4 separate regions of the Homo sapiens genome follow, and all the other regions are linked to region 3. Evidence: promoter capture Hi-C in 16 types of primary human blood cells and fetal thymus (Javierre and others, 2016). All regions are on one chromosome and are shown on one strand. The core of a region is centred on a gene start or on the middle of the fragment in contact, and the rest is flanking DNA. Distances in the headings are between cores, read along the strand shown. Region 1 has its middle 180 kb from the start of KCNQ5. Region 2 has its middle 210 kb from the start of KCNQ5. Region 3 holds the start of DPPA5 (developmental pluripotency associated 5). Region 4 overlaps RIMS1 (regulating synaptic membrane exocytosis 1).

Region 1 (7,074 bases), core at 547-3,046, 920 kb before region 3:
AAGGGACACTAGCCTATTAAGTGTCACAACGCTTAAGCACCCACAGCAAAACAAACAAACAAACAAAACACTTTGCTGGTGTGTTTGCAGTCAGAAAGGGTTAACTACTGTTTATATTTACAGATGATTATACTTTATAACAAAATGTTCAAAATATTAAAGAATCTACTGATAAATTATCAAAATATTAGAGTCACTTTTCAGGAAAAAAATTAGTGGAAAATAACATACCAAAATATTAAAAGAATATCTATCTGTGATGGGATTACAGTTGTTCTTTTCAATAGCTTCCAAATTCTCTTTAATGAACATCTATAAATTGTTTCTGGAGGCCATTCCTTTACTTCTTTTGATTATTAACAACCTGTGATGCTAAATGTTCAATATTCCCTTTATAATTGGAATACAGAAATAAATACTACTAAAATAAATATAAAAATAAAAGATGAATTATAATTGTAAAAAAATTGTTCCTGGTTCAGTTTAATTGATAGGTTGATTCTGAAATAGCAGCCAGGGTCTACCTTAATCTTCAAGTGTCCGTAATACATTTATGGGAAAGAAAAACACATAGTTCAGCAAGAAAATCTATGAAATGATATGACTTTATTGTAAATATATGGGACTGTAAGTTTTATTTAAGCTTTAATTTTTCAATCCTTATTAAAATCTCTATGAACACTAATAAACATAAAATTTGCATGACCTGATAATTATAAATTATCTTGATAAATCTAGTAAATAGATCTATTATCTATTAAATAGAGCTAGAAATTGCAGTCTTGATTTCTTTCAATACAATTTATCAGTTAGCTGCCAAAATAGGCATTAAGAGGAAAAAGCTTTCATTCATTGGGCTGTTAGTGCTAGGATTTTAGAGGAATAGAATCTTCCTCCTCCTCTTCCTGCTCTTATCTTCCTCCTTGCCTAATGTGTACTGAGGATGATCTTTAGGTCAGACACTTCTCCAAGTATTTTAGATGTATTAATTTATTTATCACCCACAATAACCCCAGGAGAGAAGTACTGTTAGTACCCACAGTTGATAGAAAAACTGAGCCAAAAAGAAGACTGGCAACTTGCCTGAGGTGTAGCAGCCTGAATAGTGGACCAGGATTTGAATACAGGCAACCTGGCTACAGAGCCTAGCTTCAGCTCTCAATCACTATGTTGTTTTAAGTATAATTTAGATTTTATTCTCCCATTGTAAGATAAATTATATACCAGTTATAGAAGATTCATAAAAATGCAGAAAAGATAAACTGTTTTTTTTTTTTTTTGAGACAGAGTCTAGCTCTGTCGCCCAGGCTGGAGTGCAGTGGCATGATCTCGGCTTACTACAACCCCTGTCTGCCAGGTTCAAGCGATTCTCCTGCCTCAGCCTCCTGAGTAGCTGGGATTACAGGCGTCTGCCACCATTCCCAACTAATTTTTGAATTTTTAGTAGAGACGGGATTTCACTGTGTTGGCCAGGCTGGTCTCGAAGTCCTCCTAACCTCGTGATCTGCCCACCTAGGCCTCCCAAAGTGCTGGGATTACAAGTGTGAGCCACTGCGCCTGGCCCATTTTTAATATTTGCATACTTTTATTCAAATTTTAAAAATTGAAAGTATGTAAAAAAGAGATTATGATTAGGTCTTTAGTTCTTCTCCCTGTCTCATTCAAGGCCTGATTTGTCTCCAGAACTAACACAACTTGCTTTTATCTCCCAGATACCTGAACTCCTACAGTACTAAATGTATCATTTAATTTAGCACTTTAAAATTTTGTGATTTTAATAATAAGGGTAAGCAGGCCAGGCACAGTGGCTCACACCTGTAATCCCAACACTTTGGGAGGCTGAAGCAGGCGAATCACCTGAGGTCAGGAGTTTGAGACCAGCCTGGTCAACATGCTGAAACCCCGTCTCTACTAAAAATACAAAGAATAGCCAGGTGTGGTGATGCACGCCTATAATTCTAGCTACTGGGGAGACTGAGGCAGGAGAATCACTCAAGCCCGGGAAACAGAGATTAGAGTGAGCCTAGATCGCGCATTTGCACTCTAGCCTGGGCAACAGAAGCAAAACTCCATCCAAAAAAAAGGGTAAGCAAAGCTGTACTTTACAAAATACACACACACACACACACACACACACACACACACACACACACACATACACACATGACACAGGCACACAAACATACACACACACAAATAGTAGCAAGGCACTCTGTTCTTCTCACCAGTTGGTGAGACAGAATGCCTCCCATCATAGGCTTTCAGCCCTTGGTTCTGCCATTATCTCTAAAATCCTAGCCAGTCTAGGACTTCCTCTGAGTTGAAAAGGGCATAGGTCCTCCAGAGGCTCAACTGAACACCTGCTCCTGAATTGCTAATCACCCACAGGATTAATTCATGAAAGAATTAACAAGATGATCCTTTTTGAGAGAAGCCTGGACATGCCTTCCTTTCTGTCTAGAAATTAGTTACATTAAGACATCAAGAAAGAAAGAAACTCTACAGCTTTGACAGTCAGTACCAATAAGAACTTCAAGAACCTATTCATAGAATGGAATCACTCTTTCTAGGCGATTTGCTAAAATGCATTTTTCTGCTCTGGGCCACCAAAATATTAATCCTGTGTAGACATACTTTTAACAATTTGACATGAGAATTAATTGTCATTTTCTCCTCAAAAAGAACAGAGTGCAGGGTGCCTTGTCACTGTGAGCACGTTCATGTGATTTTGCGGGGAAAGTATGGATTTGCTAAGCTTTTATCTTTGAAATAACTTTCAAAAGTAGCAAATTCTCATTGCCTGGCACGTGACAGTTTTGTTGTTCATGTAATGGATAGAAAGGAAAACTGAAAAATGCTTTGAAAGCTAGACCAATCTAGATTAGAACGGAAGAACAGCATTTGATGGACAGCTTAAAAGATCCAGAAAGATGGTAGGAGGTACTCAACCTAACATGGACTGGGTTTATAGAGTTTTGGAGGATAGAGAAGAGAAATTTCCCAACAGCTTGTATGCCTGAATAAAGAATCAGAGAGATAGGGGAAAAGAGGTTTTAAAGTTATTTTCTCAGTGATATGAATGTAAACCCTTTTTGACACTGGTGTGAGCCATTGTAGAAGAGATTTTAAATGGCTTCTTAATTTTCCTGGATTTCAGATTTGTGTCTCTTTGCCTGCAGCAGCATGTTGAAATTGGCTAAAAGGCTGCCTGGCTTTGAGTAGGTGATAGCAAACTATCAACTGGGAAAGCTCTTCCACTAATCCAAAACACTAAACAGTAGAGAAGGTGCCATCCTACAGATAATGGCTATGATTGCATTTCTACTGAGAAGCAACTTACCAAACAGGAGTTTCACCAATTGTAAGCAGATACAATGGTGGAAAGGTCTTAAGCAGACAACAAATGTAACAGACCACACAGAGGTGTTATCCTGCCAGAAGAAAACAGAGTGCTTCAGCCCAGCTTCATCTGCAAATGAGTGTTACACTGAAGCTGAAAAATTACATTTAAAGAAGACCAATGGATGGAAAACTAAAAGTCTGGGCAGGCTTTCTGGGAAGTGAGCAGGTTCTGTTTTGGTACAGTAAGTTCCACTCCTTAATTGTATTTAATTAATCGTGAGTCTCTCCTGCTGTCCTGTTGGCATTTTCAATACTAATAGATAGTTTAAAAGTTTACAGAAAACAAATATATATTCTGAAAAAATGCATGGATTTTAAATTTTTTGCACCAAAATATACTTGTACTAACTTTTTATAACATGCCTCAACAGCATCTAATTTGAGCCACTAAGAAGGATAAGATATGAGTTTCAAGAGAGCCCCAATCAGAGCAACATGAACTCTGCTAAAATTAAAGCAAGAATGAACATCAATTTATGGTAAAACTTGCGTGGAAGAATGATGAAATAAATAATGCTTTATGAAAGTTTATGGGGAAAATGTCCCAAATAAATCAGCAGTTTACAAGTGAATAACTCATTTCAAGAGGGAATGAGATATTGTTGAAGATGAAGCTCACAGTGCCATACCATCCACACATACTTGCAAGGAAACACTCATCTTGTTTGTGTCCCAATTGAAAAGGACCAGCAATTAACAGCAGAAACAGTAGCCCAACACCATAGGCATCTTAACTTATTCAGCTTACACAGCTGTGAACTAAAAATTAAAGCAGAGCAAACTTTCCACTTGGTAAGTGCCAAAAATGTTGTGCCCACTTGAGCTACAGACAAGATCAGAGTTTTCAATTGAAATTTTAAACAAGTAGGATCAAGATCCTGAAGCATTTCTTTGAAGAATTGTAACAGGAGATAGACAAGGCTTTACTAGTATGATCCCAAAGACAAGCACAATCAAAGCAATGGCTACCAAGAGGTGGAAGAGGTCCAGTCAAAGCAAAAGTGGATTAATCAAGAACAAAGATCACGGCAGTTTTGGGGATGCTCAAGGCATTTTGTGTGTTGACTTTCCAGGAGCAGGGGGTGGGACGCAAAAACAATAACATCTGCTTATTATGAGTGTGTTTGAAGGAAGTTAGCCAAAGTTTTAGAAGAAAAACACCTGGGAAAGCTTCACCAGAGAGTCTGCCTCCTCCATGACAATGCTCTTGCTCATTCCTTTCATCAAACAAGGGCAATTTTGTGAAAGTTTTGATGGAAAATCGTTAGGCTTTCACCTTACAGTCTTGATTTAAATTCTGCTAACTTCTTTTGTTTCCTAATATTTAACTAATCTTTAAAGGGCACCATTTTTCTTCAGTTACTAATGTAAAAAAAGATGGCATTGACATGGCTACATTCCCAACTCTCATTTCTTTAAGGATGGACTAAATGACTGGTATCATAGCTTTCAGAAGTGTCCCGAACTTGATGGGGCTTATGTTGAAAAATAAAGTTGGCAATTTTTGTCTTTTAATTCCATTTTTCCATGTATTTTTTGAAGTCCCCCCGTATTTGGGTTGGTCCTTGTAAGAAGTAGTGAGCCATTTTCTCTCATCTTCCTCACTGCTGAACATCTCAGGTCACACGTGATTTTGTCAAGTGCCTTTCTTCCATGGCCCTGAGGTTTGCAGTGAGTAACTCCCCAGTAAGTGACGTTTGTATTCTCCCATCCTTAACCCCTAACTCACCTCTGTGCTTGCCCATTTTCCCCATCACACAACCCCTGCCTAAAAGAAATCTGTGAATTTTCCCCATGAGGAAACTAATGAAGTCCTAACCCCAAATGAAGAGTGGGTTCCTTCCTTCCTCCAAACAAGTTATATAAAATGCTTCTCTAAGCTTCACCAGTAGGCTATACTTCTGGTTTTTTTGTCTGTTTGTTTTTTGCTTTTTTTTTCAGAAGATATATTATTCTGCTAAGAATCCTAGTGGAATCATCAAAGGTCACTACTACTAAGAAGAGCATTTTGACAAAAGACCCTTCCTCAAGGACCTCTGTGCTTTCTGACAGAGTGAAAATTTAAAAAAAAAAAATCTCTGAAAAGGAGAAAATCAAATGAAAGTCATTCCAAAAGAGCACCATATGGCCCACAAGATGTGTGGGTATGGAAGACTCATGCAATGAGGGAAACACACAGATTCTGGAAATCAAAAATGAGCCCCCCCACCCCCCACAAAGTAGGTCATCCCTCATAGCCAAATTCTGAGACCAAATTTCTCATCGCATACTTCTAATTTAGTTTACCTCTGTTGGCATAAGTATGTTCATTTAAAAGTGAATTTCATTCTCACCTCAGCATGGCTCATATTTGTGGTATAGCTAAATGGCTTCATCTTGAGGGTGATGTTGTGCAGCATATGTTACTAAAGTATAGCATCATCTTCTGATTTGAAAAAAAAGAAATGTACATTTGAACTCACTTTGGAAGCATATGTATACAAAATTGTTCTCCTTTACAATAGCTAGCATTGTCATAAAAATTGAAAGTAGGTTCAGAATTAGTAAAGAACTCTCATGGCTTCCTTCAGGACAGGGTTTCTCAACCTTGGTACTATTGACATTTGGGGCTAGATAATTTTTAATAGATTTCACTTTTTAGAGAAGTATAAAATTCGAGCAGAAGGTACAGAGGAGTCTCTTCTACCACTGTACCCAATAATTCCAATAATTTTTTTGTAGGGAGATGTCTTGTGCATTTTAAGATGTTCAGCAGCATCCCTGGCCTCTTCCACTAGATGCCAATAGCATCTTGCTGTTGTGAGGACCAAAAGTATCACCAGACATTGTCAAATGTCTCCTGGTTAAAATCACCAGGCAAAATCACCACTAGTTAAACATTATTCTTTCAGAGCTGGGCCTTACCCCTACAGGAAAGATAGAAGGTAGATTCTGTCTTTGAATTTATTAAGGAGCATCATTTTTTAACCCGACTCTATAAAATAGTACAACATGGGTAGATGTTTTATGAGTATTGATTTCTTCAGATAAAGCCACTACAAATTCATTATAAGCATTTGAGGAAGATGAGACAGTTGGAAGTGGGGTAGAAAAGATGTCAGCAGGAGGCCAGGAATGCTCCATAAGAAAGACACACACAGTGGTAATCCAAGGTCCATCTCCAACCCTGCATGTTCACAAGCTCAATATAGCTCAAGAATTATTAGCTAATTGATCAGACTTGGAGTTTCAATTCACAGGAAAAAAGCTAATGAGACATTATTAAATGGAACAACCATTGATAATTGGTAAATTTGCAATGAAAACGTCATAAAAAGGATCGTAAAAAGGATCAAAATCCATATGAGCTTTACCTGCACAATTTCCTCCAGTAGGTTGAGCTGCATGGAAACTAAATTGTCAGAGAGTATGCTGTAAATATGAAATCAAAACATGGAAAGTAAGACTTGTGATCTGATAGTTTAAAGGGCATCAGGGTTTACTCAGTCTGACATGCTCATCTCCACAGTGAGGCCCTTCCCCCTGCAGCTCTGGGGAAAGTCACATCTGAATTAATATTTCCACAAGTTAATGGGCTGAAAAAAGATCCAAGAAGCTTGCTAAAATTCAAATTTGTGGACTCTATTCCCAGAGATTCTGATTTACTAGGATGGAGGTGGGGCCAGTCATCAA
Region 2 (6,624 bases), core at 994-3,493, 940 kb before region 3:
TGATTTCTCAACCATGTACACTAAGGTGGAGACTTCTACACTGGAAGTATAATAATTGGGCTCAATAAAATTGCAAGTAACCAATATGAAGTGCTCTATGACACACAAATTAAAAAAAAAAACACTCCTATTTGAAGGTTTTTTTTCTAAATCATAGCAACAGTAAATTTTAAAATTACAAATTAATTTTGACTTTATAAATCCACCACCTGTATTTCTGGCAGTTAAACTATTGGAGTCCCCTTTTCCTTGGGGTTTTCTTATCCTTCTGAAAGCAGCTACAGGCTGAAGTAAAAGTATTTTCCAAGATGTTCTTTTGTAAATGTGTAACCCCCCGATGACATAAAGCAAAGTGTGCATGTTGAGTTTGGAAGGGTTGGAGATTTGAGAGCTAGAAGGGTAACAGAGGGGAAAATGTCTAGAAACAGTGGAGGGATAAAGGGCAACTTGGATCAATGGGGAATCCTGTCTCATTCCATAGTAGAGCAATAGCTCAACAATGGTCAGGCTATATCCTAAAGCCAGAGAAACAGTGGTCAGTCATGGTTCAATTTCACTTTTGTGCTCCAATGTTAGAACTAAGTTTTTCAAAAATTTATGACAGGTCACCAAGTTATAAAGGAAATGGTTTATGAGAGCTGGTTCCTGTACTGTAAAACAATTTCCACTTACTCTCCTCTCTCTCCCTGAATTTCATCATCTCCCAAGTGCCCCCCACCCCCAGGCTCTCTGCTTTTTGATTCTTCCATTCTGAAGAGGAGAAGGCAGATCTTCCCCTGCATTCTCTGCCAAGGACTCACCCCCTGCTCACTCATCTGCGTTCTGCCACCACAACTTCATAGGCAGCTAAGATCAGTGCTCAAATTTTAAAGTTGCAACCATTTACCTTGGGATCCTGTTAAAATACACATTCAATTTTAGAAGTCCAAGATGAGGCCTCAGATAATGCATCTCTAACACACTCCCAGGCAGGACCTATTATGTCATTTACGAGGTCTAGTACAAAATAAAAATCTGAGCCCGCATGTTAAAAAATTCTTAAGATTTTCAAGATAGCAACAGCAGAGCGTGAAGCCAAGAGCAGGCCTCCTGAGTGCGAGGGCTGGTGTGACTGCCCAGGACCCAGGCCTATGAAGCCGGTCCCACCTCCAAGTGATGCAGGGGTTGGAGGAGCTCAGTTTGCACAGAAAGATTGAATGCCCAGGCCTGGAAAGCAGAGCCTTGTGACGGGCCACACTTTCCACTGGCCTTTCTATCTACTAAGTAAAACCAGCAAAAACACTCATGATTTTTCAGTCTAGATCTCTGATTCATCGATTAAAATTGATAAGTTGGTGACCCTAGAGTAATGCTCCAGAAATGCACTTCTTTTTCTTTAAAACACTCTTGATGAAAGCTTTCCAATTATAAAGAATTAAGAAACATTCTTTGAGCCTTTCTTTAGACAATGATGGAAGAGGAAGGAGGCAGGACAAATGGGAAGGCCCCAGAACCTTCACTCTTGCTCTGAGCTTTGCTCTGTTTGACGATTTTATTGGGGGTAGGTGAAGGGGGATGTTGATGCGGGTCAGTCAGGCAAATTTCACTTTTGTGAAAAGATAGATGGAGACTAAGAAAGATAGATTCTCTCCCTCTCTCTCTCTTTTTTTTTTTTTTTTTTTTTTTTTGAGACAATATCTCGCTCCGTCACCCAAGCTAGAATGCAGTGGTACAATCATGGCTTACTGAAGCCCCAAACTTCTAGGCTCAGCCTCAGCCTCCTCGGTAGCCGGAACAAAAGGCATGCACCACCACACATGGCTAGTTTTTAAGTTTTTTTTAGAGATGGGGGTCGGACTATGTGGGCCAGCCTGGTCTCAAACTCCTGGCCTCAAGCAGTCTTCCTGCCTTGCCCTCCCAAAGGGCTGCGATTACAGGTGTGAGGCACCACACCAGGCCTGATTCTTTTACTCTAATAGCAACCACAAACCAAATATAACTCTGAGCTACATAAATCCTCTTTCCTAGGAAATCAGGCTATCAGAACCCTAGTTGTTGGAGAGTTAAACAAAGTTCTACCACTTTAGGGTTGGATTGCCTCTCAGTTCCAAAGGTAACAGGAAGCCCAGTGTCAGGGTATCACCTGGCCTCCTGCAATCCCAACCCTCCTCACCTTCCCACGCTGGACTCCTCCCTGTTAGCTGCCATTAGGGCATCAGATGGATAGGAAGTAGGAAAATAGGAAATTCAAAATAGTGTATCTAGTGGCATGTTCTCACCTCCTAGGAGGCTGTGAAATATTTGTGAATTTCCCCTGCTTTATTAACAGGCAAATAGCAGTTGTATTACCTGGTTCTTCTCAAAATTTAGTTTAAAAAGAAATCTCACTCTGCCACACTAGCATTTGGCTCAAAATTATGAACAAGGGTTTGTCTGCAGGCAGGGGCCTCAACCCTGCCCTCTGTTGGTGAGAGCTAGAACCTCATAAAATAAGCGGGTGTAGTGGCGCATCTCAGCCACAAGATGGCAGCAGTGCTTCGTGCAGGTCCGAGAAGACGCTGAATGCAGAGGGATCTTTTGAGAGTCAATGCTGATGCGCTAGCCTTCAGTAGGGAAAATTTAACTAGGACTGACTAAACCTTAAGGTTAAGGACTAATCTTGTGGGGCAACTGCCTTTTATATGGTGTAAAAATATCTGCTTGAGAATACAGTATAAGTATTTTATAATTATATGCATACTCAAATCTTTTTCATCTTTATCTCCACCAAGAATCAATCAAGAGGTTTTGTTTTGGTGAATGAATTCTGAGTTTTGACTCACCTCCCTTGAGATTATAGGTTCATTTCCAGTCCCCAGGTGTGTGTGGTCAGAGAATCTCTGTCGTTTCCACTTATGGAATAAAGTTGCCCTGTCCCTGGGACCAATGCCACCATGCTCAAGCACAGCCATGTGTGGACAGGCCACGCCAAGGCCAAGTACCCGGGACAGGGGGGCAGAGAGGAGGCATGAGCAGCAGGGAGAGAACTTCTCAAGGCTGGACCATGAGCCACCACTGGAAGGTGCGTAAGGGGCTGCGCACTCTTTCCGGGGGCTGCCACAACAAAGTACCCAAAGCTTGTGGCTTAAAACGACAAGAACTTCTTTTTAAAACAAGAACTTATTTTACCGTTCTGGAGGCCAGAAATCTGAAATCAAGGTGACAGCAGACCCACACTCCCTCCAAAGGCCTCAGGGAAGAATGCTTCCTGCCCACTCCCAGCTCCTGGAGCCTACTGGCACTCCTTGACTTGTGGCAGTAGAACTGCAGTCTCTACCTCCATCCTCACATGGCCTCCAGGTGCCCCCTCTCTTCTTTTTTGATCTCTTATAAGGACGTTTGTCATTGGACTTGGGGCCCACCCTAAGTCAAGGCCTTCTCATCTCAATATCCTTACCTTAATTATATCTGCAGTGACCTTTCTTCCAAATAAGATCACATTCAGATGTTCTGAGTGGACTTTTATTTTGGGATGGGGGTCATCATTCAACCCACTACAGGTGGGAGGTAGGAGATTCCTTGACACCACTCTAATTATTCTCACCATGATTATGGAATTTCAATCAATGTGGAGAAAAGCCAGTAAACATCAGGACAAAGCAGCAAAGTTCACCTGACTATGAATGTGGGAGCTTCTAGAGATGCATCATTGGCAAAGGCACCCTCTCTCCCCAGAGATGTCTCTTTGAACCCCTCTGTGGAATCTGTGAAATAACTCCCTAGTAACTTGAACCCACTAGGATTTACAGCATTTCAAAATGTGTGTGATTAATAACAATCTAATAACGACACTCTAATTTGTGTACAAATACCATAATATTAACAAAAATACTATAATACAAACATATTCTAATTCAATTAGTCTTTTGTGGTGAACAGGTATGAGCAATTGGATCTATAACCTCATAGTTAATGAGATTATATAACTATATACCATTGGGCAGAAAAAACTGTGATAATGCTACCTACCCTGCTTGCCTAAGAGAAATGTCTATCAAAGTGTTTTTAAATATATAAAACCCTCTAAGAATGAAAGGTGTGCTTTTCTTTCTCGTCCACTTCTGCAGCACATACAGGCGTGTGTGAGTATGTGTAAACAACAAACACTGAACCTGATCCCGTGCGACTCAAAGTCCAGTCCTCTGACCAGTAGCACCAGCAACAGCTGGGAGCTTGTCGGAAATACAGACCCTCAGGTCCCGCCCCGAACTGACTGAATCAGACTCTGCTGTTTAACAAAATCCCCGAGTGATTCATAGAGATACTAAAGTTTGAGAAGCCCTGCTCTAAATAATCTCGTTTGGTAAGTTTTATTCACTAAAATGGGAGTCCTAAATATTTTTCTCATAATTAGCTCCATAGGAAGCATCAGGTGTGAGCAGTGGTTGGCACAGGGAGAGAAAGAAGGCACTTTTACCCAGTATGTGGTCCTCCTTTGCTGACAATCCACCCTCCTTCCCCAGCAAACCAGATTATGAACCTCAGGAGCAGTGCCTGACTTAGACATCAGTTGGGTTCACCTTTTATGACTATGAAAGATCAATGGGGCTGCCCTGATTGAGGAAGAGTAAGTACTGTGATCTTGACTCTGGCCTTTTAATGTGGCATTTTCCAAGACAACTGAAAAAGTAACTGCAAGGGCGTGCCAGAAACATTGGTTTAAAAAAAAAAAAAGGAAAGGGAAAATATTAAAAGATAAGAAAGACAAAAGAGCCCATTGGAGAATCCTTTGATTTTTCTCACCCCTGATTCCTTATAGGAACAATGTGAATAATGATAACATTCATCTCAATCAGGTAAGACCCCTGTTGTGAAAGCATTCCGCTTTGAGGTGCCCAGATGGAAGGTGCTTTACAAATAGAGAATGATGGCAGCTGGGTTGGCATTTGTGTGGTCGCTTACTATTTAAAAGCAGAGAGTGCCTGACAGTGCTGCAGGGTTTCACTTGGTCCCACTGTGGGTTGGCGAGCTCCCTGGCTGGGTCCTGGTTGCCAAGGAAACTGCTACAGAAGAGATTGAGACTGTCTGGGTTCTTGGTTGATTGGTGGAGCTGAGAGCAGCATTTTATATAAGAAATACGTATTTTCAGTGACCAGAGCAAAAGTAAATAATGGCTACTAGAAGGAATCACATCCATCTTCTCCAACAGAGTTCATTTGGATAGAAACTCTTAGCAATGAAGAAGTAGCCTTCTCAGGAGCAATAAATAGGACTTAGAAATCTCCAGCTCAAACTTATGTGCTCTATGGGGAGCCATTGCCTTAGCTGGGCACAGGAGTTTTATCATCCTCTTTTAGGCAAACCTGGGAATGTAATGACTAGGTCAGCCTCAGATCACATCCTTGCCGTATGTTGGCACACCACTGATTAAGGACAGCAGAGAAATGCTGTCTTGCCATCTTTTCTTAGAGGGGGGACAGGATTTGTATGTGGCATTTGTTGATCTTGCTCACTGCGCATCTGTGAACTTTTCTTGACTGCCTCCCAGGTAACATCAGCTATTCCTCTGTGTTCCCATAGTACAATATTCAAGTCTTTATTATCACATTCTACTACAATTTGTCGGGGGGTGGAGAGGGATCTACTCCTTTTACCAGTCAAGTAATTTGCTTAAAGTCAAAGATTATGTTTATTGCTCTATTACAAGTGCCTGGCACAGTATCTAACATAGCAGGTCCTCAATAATTATTTGAGTGAATTGCCTGCCCTTAGTGTAGGCTGAGTGAAGGTTGAGCAGACACAACAATGACTTTTTCAGAAAACCTCAATGAAGCAGAAACAACACAATCATTATATGAAAGACATACTAATCGCCAGTAGTTTACATAGTTATTGCATCTAACTTTCGTATTCCTGCTAAAGCTGTAAGGTACGTAGCATTGCCCACACTTACAGGAAAAGACAGTGTATCCCAGAAAGGTTAAGTAAGTGACTTTGCAGGTATCACAACTAGTCAGTTAAGGAGCCAGTATTTGCATCCAGGTCTATCTGATTGCAAAGCAGTGTTCTTAGCCATCATGCCAGGCTATCTCAGAGCCTTCTAATGAATCATGTAGAGCCCTGCATATGGTGTTCCCCAGAGTTGAAGGACACAAGCCCCTTGCAATGATAGAACTGTCCTTGGTGAAAAGGCATAAGGTAAGATAACAGGTTGGATGGGATTCAGCTGGGACCTAAGATGTGTGCATAATGTTAACAGCACAATAACAGAGAAAAGGTATGCTGGGGGTCAAATCCAAGCTCCAGAAATTACTAGCTTTGTAGCCTTTTGCAAGGAATGAAAATACTTTGTTCTTCAGATCCCTCATCTCCAAGTTGAGGCAAGTTAATATTATTTTCTTAGAAGGAAAAATTGTAAGAATTTTAAAACAATATTTGCAAATGTGCATAGTACAGCTCCCAACACATAATGCCTAATGAATTATCACCATCATCTTTACTATCAATACTATCATGCTCATTATAGGTGTTATTTTCATTATATAAAGTGTTTCACTTAAAAGCCTAAGGAGCTGCCCAAATTTAAGCATAATTTGAATATCATTGCAAAACCACCTCCTTTAAAAGGTTAAAGAAGCTGGGAAGATGTTACCCAAGAGAAGAAAG
Region 3 (7,113 bases), core at 4,001-6,500:
TCAAAATACAAAAATTAGCCGGGCACGCCGGCGCGCGCCTGTAATCCCAGCTACCTGGGAGGCTGCGCAAGAGAATCGCTTGAACCCGGGTGTTGGAGGTTGCAGTGAGCCGAGATCGTGCCACTGCACTACAGCCTGGCAACAGAGTGAGACTCCGTCGCAAAAAATAAATTAAAAATAAAAACATTTCATAGGGCCCCCAAAGAAATCACGTATACATTTAAATGTAAGACATAAATACCGGGAGGTGGTGTGATTGGTGGGATCTCAATTTCCTTAAATGGACAATGAGAATATTTTGAGAATTCAGTTAATAAAAGAGCCCAGCTTCTAGCCCCGCGGAGCTAGAAGCTCTCAATCAGCGTTAGCTATTGTTATTATTATTAGCCACTTTAGGGTTGGAGGATTACACTTGATTGGGTGTTTATCGCTTGTTATTTAAAGGCTTTCTTGGACTAAGCACTTGTTTTATCTCCTCTCCAAAACTCTTCCATCCCATTGTCAGACCCTCCTTAGGGCAGACCCCTCTCATCTGCATTACAAGAAAGCTTGAGGTTTCCTGTAATTGTCGCACTTAACCTTGGTGGAAAGCTGATCACCAGCTGCAAACTCAAAGAAAGAAATCCGCTCCAAGGCAAACCACCTTCAGACTTTTACTTCCAAAATTTTACCTATGAATTTTCTTAAAGTATTTTATTGCTGTTATTTTTGGTTTGGGGGATTGGGAAAGGGGAGCTGAAAAATTTTCAGTCCAGGACTTGCATGGAATTTATGGCAGATTCTTAAATTTCCCTCTTTTGCTACCATAATTGATACCTACTCAAAGTTTTCTGCATTTAGAAACTCTGCCTTTAAGAGGGAACTCTAGGCCAGGCACGGTGTCTCATACCTGTACGCTCAGAGCTTTGGGAAGCCAAAGCAGGTGGATCGCTTAAGATATTGAGTTCAATACCAGCCTGGCCAACATGGTGAAAACCCATGTCTACTACAAATACTGAAGAAAAAAAAAAAAAAAAAAAAGCTGGACATGGTGGTGCATGCCTGTGATCCCAGCTACTGGGGAGGCTGAGGCAAGAGAATCACTTGAACCTGGGAGGCAGAGGCTGCAGTGAGCCGAGATCATGCCACTGCATTCCAGCTGAGTGACAGAGACTCTGTTTCCAAAAAAAAAAAAGAGAGAGAGAGAAAGAATTCTAGACTTAAAGGACAAGGCTGTTAGTTTTATGTGCTTGATTTACACTGCAGAATTGGGGTTTCAAAAGTATCTGGTCTACATTCCCACATAGAGTCTTTCATGGCCAACTGATTCTCTGAAGGGTGCACTAGATGAGGGTCATCTGAGGGTGCTAACAACCAACTGTTAGTCCATAAAGCAAATTCAAGCTATCAGCACAAAAGACAGGGAAACTTCATCAGATTCAACAAAAAAGGGTGAGGCAATGGGGAAATAGGCAATCTCTATGATAATATTTAGCAAAATTATGTTTTTCCCCTTTGGACCAGCAATTCTCCCTCTGGGAATTTAACCTACAGACATACTACTGGCAGACTTGCAAAACAGTGGTATTGTTTTGGGCACAGTGGCTCACACCGTTAATTCCAGCACTTTGGGAGGCCAAGGCGGGTGGATCACCCGAGGTCAGGAGTTGGAGACCAGTCTGGCCAATATGGTGAAACTCCATCTCTACTAAAAATACAAAATTAGCAGGGCGTAGTGGCCCACACCTGTGATCCCACCTACTCAGATGGCTGAGGGAGGAGAATCGCTTGAATCCAGGAGGCAGAGGTTGCAGTGAGCCAAGATCACGCCATTACACTGCAGCCTGTGACAAAAGCAAAACTGTCTCAAAAAAAAAAAAAAAAGTTATTCAAAGTATTCATCTCATCTTTGTAAAAGCAAAAGATTGGGAATAAACTCAAAAGTCATTTTGTAGAGAATTAAATTGAATAATACCCAGCTGTAAAGGAGGGAAAATAATCTACACGTATAATTCCTTATATTTTTTAAAAACTCTTGAATGGACATTCAAGAAAATATTGCTTATTTTTGGGAAGTAGGAAATGTATGATATGAAATGAGATAGGAGGGAGACTTCTATCATTTTAGATTTTTTTTTTTTTGAGACAGTTTCCTTTCGCCCAGGGTGGAGTACACTGGTACGATCATAGCTCACTGTAACCCCAAGTTCCTGAACTCAAGCGAACCTCCTGCCTCAGCCTCTTGAGTAGTTAGGCCTACAAGCATGTGCCACTGTGCCCAGATAATTCTTTTTTTTTTTTTTTTTTTTTTTTTGAGACAGAGTTTCTCTGTCACCCAGGCTGGAGTGTAGTGGCACGGTCTTCCTCAGCCTCCCAGGTTCAAGCGATTCTCCTGCCTCAGACTTCCACATAGCTGGGACTACAAGCACCCGCCACAACGCCTAGCTAATTTTTGTATTTTTAGTAGAGACGGGGGTTTCATCATGTTGGCCAGGTTGTCTCGAACTCCTCACCTCGTCATCCACCCACCTTGGCCTCCCAAAGTGCTGGGAATACAGCCGTGAGCCACCACGCCTGGCCTTCCTTCAAAATCTTGAGCAGGAGCCAGGCTGAGTGGTCTAGGACCTTCCAGCCACAGGTCTCAGGGCTGGGACGGGGGAGGGTAAAAATGCCAATAGGGTACGTGACTGATCCCTTGGTCTCCACTCCAAATAAAGCTCAATAGCATGCCAAATGTGCCTTTGTCTTCTCAGGGACCCACAAGTGGTATGGCATCTAATGGTCCCAGAAACTGCACCCAGGACTTCCAGGGGGTAGAAAAACAATGCATTTACAAGACTTTCATGGCCCTCCCTCTGAGTCTTCAATGATGAGAACCTTAGAGGATAGGACTGGAAGCTGGAGTCCCTCCTCCCTCAGAACCTGTAATACAGGAGTCTACTCCAGTCCTGCAGTAGAGGAAGAGTAGCCTATTATTCATACATTCAAGAAATAATGCCCATTGTGTCAGACATTGTTTTAATACTTCGCAGATTTAGGACATAGTCTTATCTCATTTAATCCTCACTGCAACCCAATGAGGTAGATATAATTATCCCCATATTACAGGTGGAGAACTGAAGCACAAAGGCTAACATATGCCTGGTTCCCCAGCTAATAAGTAGCTGAGTTAAGATTCAAACCCAGGTATTCTAGCTGCTGTCCGTTTCTTACAACACTATCCTTAACCACTATGTACTATACCATATTGCCCCTCTTAAGAACAACAAAAAAATCAATGTCCCTGCCTTGTTGGGGTTTAAATCTTAGGAGTAGAGAGGAGGAAAATGACCAGTTAACACTATCGGTCGAGTTTATAAATGCCATAAAGAAAAAATAAAGCAGGTTAAGCAGACTGTAGAGGAGAGGATCTCCCCTGAGTATGGACCACCTGGGAGAAGAGAGCAAAACCCTTTGAAAATCTGAGATTTTGGCCAGTCACGGTGGCTCACACCTGTAATCCCAGCTACTCACCCATAATCCCAGCTACTCACCCATAATCCCAGCTACTCGGGAGGCTGAGGCAGGAGAATTGCTTGAAAGGGGTGGGGGCGGGGGAGGGGGGTCGAGGAGGTTGCAGTGAGCCAAGATCGCTCCATTGCACTCCAGCCTGGGTGACAAGAGAAAAACTCGTCTCCAAAAAAAAAAAGAAAAGAAAAGAAAACAAACAAAAAACACACACAAAACATGCTACACTAACAATGGTTCTGACTTCCCATATTTTTGTTGGACACATTTGCTTTTCAGCTTATATACAAAATGTCAACCTATTATAGGGTTGTTTTCAAGTGAGTCCAGGTCACTTGAGACAATCATCACATCTCCCATAGGTTTTTAGTTCAGTGCTGCATCTCAGGACCCTGGCTCCTCCACCCTTTTTGACACTAGCCAAGTGTGCCTTTGGACCCTCATTTTGTCTTTGGAGGATTTCAATTAAGGGTTAAGCTCAGGGCCACACTTCAGCTGTGCTTCAGAGATATTTAAGGTAGTACCTACAATCCATCAACCACACTGAACTATCAACTTATTTAAAACTTTATTGTTATTTTTAAAAATGGGAAAAAAGAAAAAACACTTTTTATTAACAATCATCAAAGAAATATTCACAACAAGACTCAGAGCCAAGGGTTTTCCCTTAACTCTTTAAGGGAACAAATGGTTTTCCCTTAACTCTTTAGGCTGGAGCAGATTTTAAAACAAGCTTAAGGAATCACTCTAGCTCTGGCCACAACCTAATCTCTGCAACCCGGCTTCATTGCATTGGCTGGAAACTGGTTCACTTCATCCAAGGGCCTAGTTCGAGGGCATTCATGGCTTCGGCAAGTTTGAGCATCCCTGCACCAGAAATAGCAACAGCGGCGTGAGTCTGGGGGAAAATAGTAAGCGCCCGGACTGTTCTCCGCCTCTTTCAGGGTTCGTTTCTGGGACTTCTGATCCAGGCGTTCTGGGCCTGAGAGTCAGGCCCAGAACCTTGGAACCCGAGACTACTCGGCCCATTCGAACATTCTCCAAGAAACTGAAGGGGGCGGGGAGACGGTTGAGATAGCTCAGATAACCCTGCCCAGTGGGTCCAGCACCAGCCGCCTTTCACCATAGTCTCACCCCTGGGTCTCCAAGACCGACGGCCGGCATTCTGGGGCCCCCATTCCCAAAGGGGTCTTGGGAAGGCCCAGATGCCAAGGGCACCCCTGGTGACGCCCAAGGTGCTGGCAGCGAGCAAGAGAGGAGAAAGAGGAGAGGGCTGGAGGAGAGGCGCGAAGCGGCCCCCGCGAGCCTGTGTTCCGCGTACCCAGTCTCTGGGCCTCTCACCTCGCTCCTGGCGCTGGCGGTGCCACTCAGCCATGGACTGGAGCATCCACTTGGTCCGGAGCTTGTACAAATAGGAGCCGTAAACCACGACCTCGGTGAGGTCTGAAGACTCCAGAGCCTTCAGCTCGAGCATGGCCTTGCTCACCTGCTCGATGTAAGGGATTCGAGATCCGTCCGGGCCTGTTGGGGAAAAGAGATGAGATCCCCGGGCCGGCTGAGACTCCCGAGCCGGGGCAGCCCGCCAGTACTGGGCACACTCACCGAAAATGGCTTTCAGCAGCCGCGTCTGGACCTGGAACACCTCTGGATCTTTCAGGTCTTCGGGAACTTTCACCCACGGCGGGATATGTCTACGTGCCGGGAGAGTTCCCATCTTATGACCCTCACAACCAAGACCACTCTCCAGCGCAAACCAGGCCTAATCACGCCGGCCGAGGCTCAGGGGCGATAAAGCCTCGCACCTGGTGGCCCCGCCCCCGGCCAGGCCCCGCCCCCGGCCCGGGCCAGGACCCTGAGTCCATGCCCCGCCGCCCTGGCTGCGGTCCAGCAGGTTGCCAACTCTTCCGCTTCCCGCGACTTCGGGAGAGCCTCACCCGGGCCCAGCTGTCTCCAAGTTAACTAGGGTTTCCACCTGCATTGACCTGTGTCTTTCGCACCAGAATCCCATGGGCTTGGGAATGGCTGGGGGCAAGGTGCTCTTGCCTCTTCCTCTAGGGAACAACCGGTGGGACCTGAACCTCGGAAAGCGGGCGTCCAGGCTTGAGGGTGCGAGGACCACCCAGTAGCTGCCGAATCGAGTTCCTGCCTCACACGTTCCAAAGAAGGGTCCGTATCCCCTCGGCCTTAAGGAGCAGGACCCGCGGCTCCACTTTGCTGGCGACCCGGACAACGTCCCGGGAACTCTGGAGGAACTCTTGCCATTGAACAAAAGAGAAAACCGAAATTCGGAAACTGATTATCTTACCTAAAGGGATTAGCGTTCTTCGAAGCCCCTGGCTCTAGAGTCTTTGAACCTACCCGGATTATAAAGCTCACCTGTGCCCTGCCTGCGCACTCCAGCCAAAACCGGTCCAGGCTTCTGGCTCCTCTGTAAATAAATTTGGTTTATTCGTTTTTTAAACATAGTGTTTGGAGCGATGCACTGGAGTCACTCGATGAGAGTGTGATTTCACTGTTTTATGGCTTTACAGATGGTGATTAAGCTGGCATTTCCAGTCCTGGTAACATCTAATGTCCCCTCAGCTGTCCATTATTGAGGGTTTCTTAAGGCAGACCTCTTCACACACACACGCACGCACACACACACACACGCACGCACACACACACACAATGGGTTCTTTTGCAACCACCAGTGTAGTTAATTTAGAAAATGATCATCAATAGCTAAAACTATCAGATGAAGACTGTTGAGGAACTAGATAGTCACAAGTTTGGAAGCCCTAGGCACAGATTATGAATTGCAAAGGAGAAAAAAACATTCCTTTACAGTAGAGACTTGGAAGAAGCCACCTTGACCCAAGTTAGCATCACCAATAATGGGACAAATGGATTTCTGGTTCAATATCTGAAAAACAAAAAGAGGACTGTTTTATTAATTGACTAAGACACTAAATGCTGTGTGCATAGTTCAAATAATTCTGAATCAAAGATGGGGGATGCATTTCAGGACAATGAAGGAAATTTTAATATGCCCTATATTTCAAAGTAGTATTAGAAACTTCTAAAGTTTAGAACTTCTAGAGTGGGATAAGTGTACTACAGTTATGTAAGATAAGGTCATTATTCTCAGGAGAAACATGCTAAAGTATGTAGAGTGAATTGGGTTTCTTTGTTTTTATTTTTATTATTTTTTAAATTAAATTTAAATTTTTTGAGACAGAGTCTCACTCTATTGCTCAGGCTGGAGTGCAGTGGCGCGATCTCTGCTCACTGCAACCTCCACCTCCCGGGTTCAAGCGGTTCTGCTTCAGCCTCCCCAGTAGCTGGGATTACAGGTGCCAGCTACCATGCCCGGCTAATTTTTGTATTTTTAGTAGAGACAGGGTTTCATCATGTTGACCAGGCTGGTCTCGAACTCGAACTCCTGACCTCAAGTGATCTGCCCACCTCGGCCCCCCAAACTGCTGGGATTACAGGCATGAGCCACCACACCTGGCCAAATAATCAAATATATATATATGGAGTCTTGCTCTGTCACCCAGGCTGGAGTACAGGGCACAATCTTAGCTCACTGCAACCTCTGCCTCCCGGGTTCAAACAATTCTCCTGCTTCAGCTTCCTGAGTAG
Region 4 (6,265 bases), core at 383-2,882, 1.0 Mb before region 3:
TTTATTTTTAGTAGAGACGGGGTTTCACCATGTTGGTCAGGCTGGTCTCGAACTCCTGACCTCGGGTGATCCACCAGCCTCAGCCTCCCAAAGTGCTGGGATTACAGGCATGAGCCACCACGTCCGGCTGAGTTTAAATTCTGTTCTAAAGTAAAGTCTGAAAATACTGGTGCTTTCTTATGTTACTGTAAAATTTGTGCACTGACAATGTAATTTGAGAGCCCCTTTATCCGAGTTTCAAAGCCTGTCAGAATCCAAAACTGACCCCACAATTTCTATTCATTCGTCAGTTTTAAAATTTCCTGGCCTCTTTTGACTCTTAGAGTCCAGGTTCCCCTGTTCAATACAACATAGACTGCATAAAGCTTAGCCATTTCCTTGCTTTATAAAACAAAACAGAACAAAAAACGTTTGTTCATGTCCAGGCTTTATGAGTTTAATAGACTTTGATGAAGAAACTGTTAGTCATGGGGGGATTGGAGGGAAGGTGATTGGGAAGTGGTCACGTCACAAAGCACACATTATTTTGCTCTTTTTCTCTCTCTTCTCTCTCACCTCTGATACTCAGTTACTACTTCTGGCTTGTTTATGTCTACAAATAACAGGCATGTACATTTATATATCATTTACTCTTCCAGGTTGTTTTATCAACACTATTTAATCTTTAAAACAAGCCAATGGAATAGGTTCTGCTAACATTTTTCCTGTATACAGTAAGGAAATTAAGGTATAGAGATTAAGTAACTGGGGGTTGGCAGAGCTAGTATTAAAACCCAGGCTTTGGCCGGGCACGGTGGCTCACACCTGTAATCCCAGCAATTTGGGAGGCCGAGGAAGGTGAATCACCTGAGGTCAGGAGTTAGAGACCATCCTGGCCAACATGGTAAAACCCCGTCTCTACTGCAAATACAAAAATTAGCCGGGCGTGGTGGCACGTGCCTGCAATCCCAGCTACTAGGGAGACTGAGGCAGGAGGATCACTTGAACCTGGGAGGCAGAGGTTGCAGTGTGCTGACATCATGCCACTCCACTCCAGCCTGGGCAACAGAGTGAGACTCCGTCTCAATAAATAAATAAACAAACAAACAAATAAATAAAACCCAGGCTTTGCGCCTACATATTCTGTCTTCTTAGCTACTCCATGGGGACAGTTTTCTCACTATGGAAAATTCTAGCTCTTAAGCTAGAACTCTATTTTATTAAATTTACTTCTAACACTAAGCCCAATTTTTTTTAATTTTTGTATGTACATAAAAGGTATATATATTTATGGGATATATGAGATACCAATTTTTAACCTACTCATGTATTTGCTGTAGTTAAAATAATTGTAATGATTACAGAGCACATCTTTAACAAAAAGAAGTAAAATGTGTAATATCTAAAATTTGGAATTGCATACATTTTGTTTCTTAGATGCTCTGTATGCTATGCCCAGTGTTACTTTTTAAGTGAGAGAGTTGCTGTTGATTAACTATAGGAGACTTGATTTATTTCTAATTTTTCCTAGTACTGTTTTGCTATGTAGAATATAAAGATTCTGATGGGTATATTCAGTTTTATTCACCTTGTATTTGTAAACCCATAGAACATCTACCCACATCTAAGTGTAGTTGGCAAACCTCTTTAGTGCTTTAGACCTTTTGGGGTTCTGTTAACATAAGTCTAGGCCAAGAAGTAAGTCTAAACATCACCTGAGGTCTGCCCTGTTGCTACTTTATACATAAAACCCAACTGCCAATGTTAGATTTTACTTTTTTAATTCTTTTTTTTGTGCTCAGTGGCATGTTTAAATATTAAACGCGAGGAATGTTCATAGACCTATATAGCCAAATTGGTGTGGGGAGAACTGTTATGTGTTGTAATAGTGCACCGAAAATGCTATCAACCAATAAGGTAGACAATATCTTAGAAAGGAGAGTGAATACATGCATTTTGTATACTTAACTAAAGTTTTATTTTCTGTTTTTAAACAACAGTTGTGTCACTTAATAATTTTTGACAAAATGAAAATACGGGTTAAAGGGACATACAACTATCTTCTAGTCAATCCATAGTTGATTTTATATTGTCTCTAAACTTTTATATTGTCTCTAAACTTCATCTTTCACTACTTACATAAAAATCCCTGTAAGTATTACAATTTATCATACCCTTAAAAAATAGTTTATTTAGAGGATTTACTTGTATTACAACTAAATCTTAACTTCTCAAAACAAGAAAATATATGTATTTACATACTGTTGTTAGAGCAAAAATAACCTGGAAAATAATAGCATTACAATATATTTGGGGTTGTAAAGATTTTTAAATTATTAAAATTATTGTTCCTTGATTGTTCCTTTTTTCCTTATATCCAAAAGGCGAATTGTGTTATTATTCCTCTTTTGTATGCATAAAGATGGGTGAAAACACCTTTAGAACAAGCAGCTGATTTTTTACACTGAAAAATTGTGCAGCAGTTATGTTATCAGGTTAGAGACTGCCAGTTCGAGATGTTGGATATTTCCACCTCCTATTCTGCATGATATTTTAATAAACATACATGTCTCCCATCTAGTTTCCCAGTGGTTTATTGCTTGGTTAAATGAATCGTTGAGCTCCCTATGAAGTCTTCTGACATGTCTAATTCGATACCTGTCATTTATAACCATCTTTCCTTCCTCCCCCAACAATAACAAAAATATCATAATGAGCATAATAATCAGATTTGCTGATAAAATACACTTTTGACGTTTCTGTGATTACACATAACGACTCCCACTGTTCTCAGAAGATTCTGTTGTTGCGTTCTAGATACTTATTTGGCTTAGACATCTCAAAAAGTACAAAGAATATTGTATATCATCATTGACGTAATTCTTCCACATAATCTGGAAGGTGATTCCAGTCTACTATATTAAGCTTTCCTGTGATACCCCAAACACAGGTTAACATTATATATCCAGTCAGTTGACACAACAATCTCTAAATTATGTCCACTTTATGCTGACAACTGACCTTAACGGTATCTTTAGAACATAATTATTTCCTATCTTTGGAACGTATGAACTAAAAACTACTTTAACTCCAAATCACTAAGCTTCAAGAAGACTTGAAATTCTATGGCTTGCTTTTTGGAATTTGGAAATGTACTGCCAAGGTAAGTTTAAAAAAAAAAAAAATGATGTTCTGTGTTTCTTAAACTCTTCCACTGAAAGGCCTCTAATGGCAAAGGGAAGTAGTGCATATCTCCAGAAAGACAGGGCATAGCCTCAAACAGCAGCTAAAAGAGGAATATTCTTTTAAGTCTTCAATTTTATCTAAAAAATAATGAGATGTGTCCAGGCACGGTGGCTTACACCTGTAATACCTGCACTTTGGGAGTCCGAGGCAGGTGGATCACCTGAGGTCAGGAGTTCAAGACCAGTCTGGCTAACATGATGAAACCCCATCTCTACTAAAAATACAAAAAATTAGCTGGGTGTGGTGGCAGGTACCTGTAATCCCAGCTACTCAGGAGGCTGAGGCAGGAGAATCGCTTGAACCCCAGAGGCAGAGGTTGCAGTGAGCCAAGATTACGCCACTATACTCCAGCCTGGGTGACAAGAGCAAAACTCCGTCTCAAAAAATAATAATAATAAAAAATAAAATAAAATAAAATGAGACTTTAGCCTTCTGCTTATCATATACTAATGTTTACTATAAAAAATTTTCCAAAATATTTTAGTATAAAAGAGCATTCTTCTCTAAATTCTACCTTTATCTTTGAGCTTCAAATATCCTCTGAAACACTGCTTAATTCCTCCTATGAATATAATTCAAAATTTTAAAGCCAGACATACATATCTGTGGGTGAACAGCAAAGATTTTTTATTGCAGCTATAGGATCTGTGACTACAGGATAAAGCACAGCTAAATACCACAGATATCAAACTTCTTTTTACCTGGCACCAAAATTTGTCTAAGCTATTCAGTAATTTGTATTGAGTTCAGTTTAGCCTGTGGGCCAGAGAATAAAGATTATTTTCCATGGAGCCTCTAGAGAAAATATTTCCCATTAACCTTGCAGGTTTGGGGTGGCTTTGATGTTTAATCCTCAACTAGGTTCAGTTGGAGGGTGAGTGGGACCAGCACTTTGGGCTGAAATGTTCTCATAGCAGCCCAAGGGCATCCTGCAATCCACCATCTCTTTACTCAGATGAAGGATCAGTTCTGCTGCTGAGTGGTGCACATACATGAACTGCACCAGCCTCTCATCCTGGGATAGGAATATTTTATGGGTAGAATATTCTAAGGTGTAACAAATAGACTTAGGGGATTGTTCTGTATTTATGTTTACTTGTATTAGAATATGTACCGTACTGAGAGTCAACAGACCTGGATTTCAGGTGCCTCTCTGCCAGAGGCTAGCTATATGACTTTGGCAATTTTCTTTTCACCTTTTCAGCCAGTTTTCTTTGCAGCAGGTTCATGGCATTGGATTCTACAGGGTCTCTAATACTTCCAAGCTCTTCAGTCTATGGTTCTGTAACTTGTTTTTCACAACAGTGACTTTAATCAAATCCTTCTTTACTTGATTTTTACATACATATGATATTCAACATTTAGCACTTCTGTAAGCTTGGAACCAAACTTGCTCATAACCGTATCTCAGTCATAATTCCACTCTGAAATTTTCTGAAATTTGCATTATTGGTAATTGACAATGCTAAAAGTATCACCTAACTTTTTAATTTTCTCTAAAGATAAACATATATTAGGTCTGGTTCTTCATAGAGATTGAGACATCAAAAAATAGCAGTTTCTGAGTGATGCTCAACGTCTTTACATTTCACTTTTATGCAACTATAACTTTCACACATTATACATTGATTTCAAACACAGCTGGTGCCCGTTAGGAAACAATTCATTTTAAACAGTATCACCACCTTGTCTGTACAGCACAGTAGAGTCCCAAAACAATTACTGGATTTATATATGAAATTATTTTTTCCCTTTTGCTGCTCATAGAAGTAAGTAAAGAACAGAAAGAAAAAAAAAAGGTGCTGATAGATTAGAAGCATAGGTACTGTAAAATATAATCCAACAAAATATAATTAAAGACTATGGCCAGGAGTCAAGGTAGATAATGAAAGTGATAGAGAAATCTTTACAATTCTGTTTTTAAGATCATTATTTCTGAAACATTTCAATGAGTATTTTTCTCTTTTTTTAAGTGAGTACTTTTCTCTTTTTTTTAGTGAGTATTTTTCTAATACAAAGTAAAGTTCTCATTTGTATGAGAACTGGAACAAATATTTTGAAGTGGCTGCTGAGATTCCAGAATTACTGGTTAGCAAAGACTGCTTTGATAAATTCAACAGAATTTGTGTTTGCAAAATATTACACTTTCCAGAGATTACGTGGGGACAGAGAAAGAAGACATTTGTTTAAAAATTGTTCTCTGAGATATGAACAAAGAAGGGGAGGCAGTTAAGTTTGTCAAGGAAAAGCATGGGTTTTGAAATACTTATATTCTATTGAAAGGAAGATTTTAAGATAAAAAGATGAGAGAATTAATCAATAGAGCCTTGTCTATTGATTGAAGGCAGGAGGGATCACATCCAGCAAGAGGAAAGACACCTTTTGCATTGTTACAGGAGAGAAAGAGGGAAAGAATAGATGTGGGAAGTTTAGTGGTACAGTGATCTGACACATCAGGCTCCAGCTAACTACCTAGGTGCTACCTAAGTCCATAGGTAGGTCTTCAGATAATACACTGACTGCCCTCAGAGGGCATAACAGAGCCTTAGCCATAAATATCAGATCAGATGAGACATCTTAAACCTCAAAGAGGCCACCTAAGGGTCATTCTTTAATCTCCTATTTATTGTGTTCTCTAGGCTTCATCTTTACTTTTAACTTACATCATTAGAAAGCAATGTTCTGTGTTGAGCAAGTAAATGCAAACCTACCACCAAAGGCCAACAGAGCTGAGAGGCCAAAGAAAGAGGCTAACAAATACAGTTTATCAGAAAGAATTATTAACTAGGGACTTACAAACAGAAGTGATGTCTCAGGTGGCTGCAAGATGGTGGATCCTTGCACCAATCTCCAGAAAGAATTCTTTATATAGCAAGCTTTTAATGTGCTGGTCACATCTTCAGACTTTCTTACCAAATGACCACTGGGGAGATTAGATAAACATCTTCATGATTATCTATGCTGCAGGCATTGTTTAAAGATGTTACTGAGAACACCTTTACATGTGGGAGTCAAACATTGGTTATTAGGGTGGCTTCAC

What was found. Contacts are between HindIII fragments. The CHiCAGO score rates a contact against its expected background, and 5 or more counts as called.
Region 1: a fragment that was not itself captured here is called in contact with the fragment with the promoter of DPPA5 in region 3 in 2 of 17 cell types (total B cells and fetal thymus); the score reaches 6.2 in total B cells.
Region 2: a contact is called between a fragment that was not itself captured here and the fragment with the promoter of DPPA5 in region 3, in 1 of 17 cell types (naive CD8 T cells). The highest score is 5.2, in naive CD8 T cells.
Region 4: a contact is called between a fragment that was not itself captured here and the fragment with the promoter of DPPA5 in region 3, in 1 of 17 cell types (total B cells). The highest score is 5.1, in total B cells.

The regions. Positions count from the first base shown.
Region 1 is chr6:72,435,216-72,442,289 of GRCh38, forward strand. No RefSeq gene overlaps it. Among named protein-coding and RNA genes, the nearest start is that of KCNQ5, 180 kb to the right of the region's middle. The HindIII fragment of the contact is 1,913 bases long and covers 841-2,753 here.
Region 2 is chr6:72,409,901-72,416,524 of GRCh38, forward strand. No RefSeq gene overlaps it. Among named protein-coding and RNA genes, the nearest start is that of KCNQ5, 210 kb to the right of the region's middle. The HindIII fragment of the contact is 1,699 bases long and covers 1,395-3,093 here.
Region 3 is chr6:73,349,026-73,356,138 of GRCh38, forward strand. DPPA5 (developmental pluripotency associated 5) reads right to left here and starts at 5,251. Exons shown (of 3, transcript NM_001025290.3): 1 at 5,089-5,251; 2 at 4,828-5,007; 3 at 4,038-4,353. The coding sequence starts at 5,200. The coding sequence ends at 4,295. RefSeq lists enhancers at 1-469, 470-973, 4,303-4,804, 4,805-5,304. The HindIII fragment of the contact is 13,079 bases long and covers 4,218-7,113 here.
Region 4 is chr6:72,353,156-72,359,420 of GRCh38, forward strand. All of the region lies in intron 29 of RIMS1 (regulating synaptic membrane exocytosis 1), which reads left to right. Among named protein-coding and RNA genes, the nearest start is that of KCNQ5, 270 kb to the right of the region's middle. The HindIII fragment of the contact is 2,539 bases long and covers 364-2,902 here.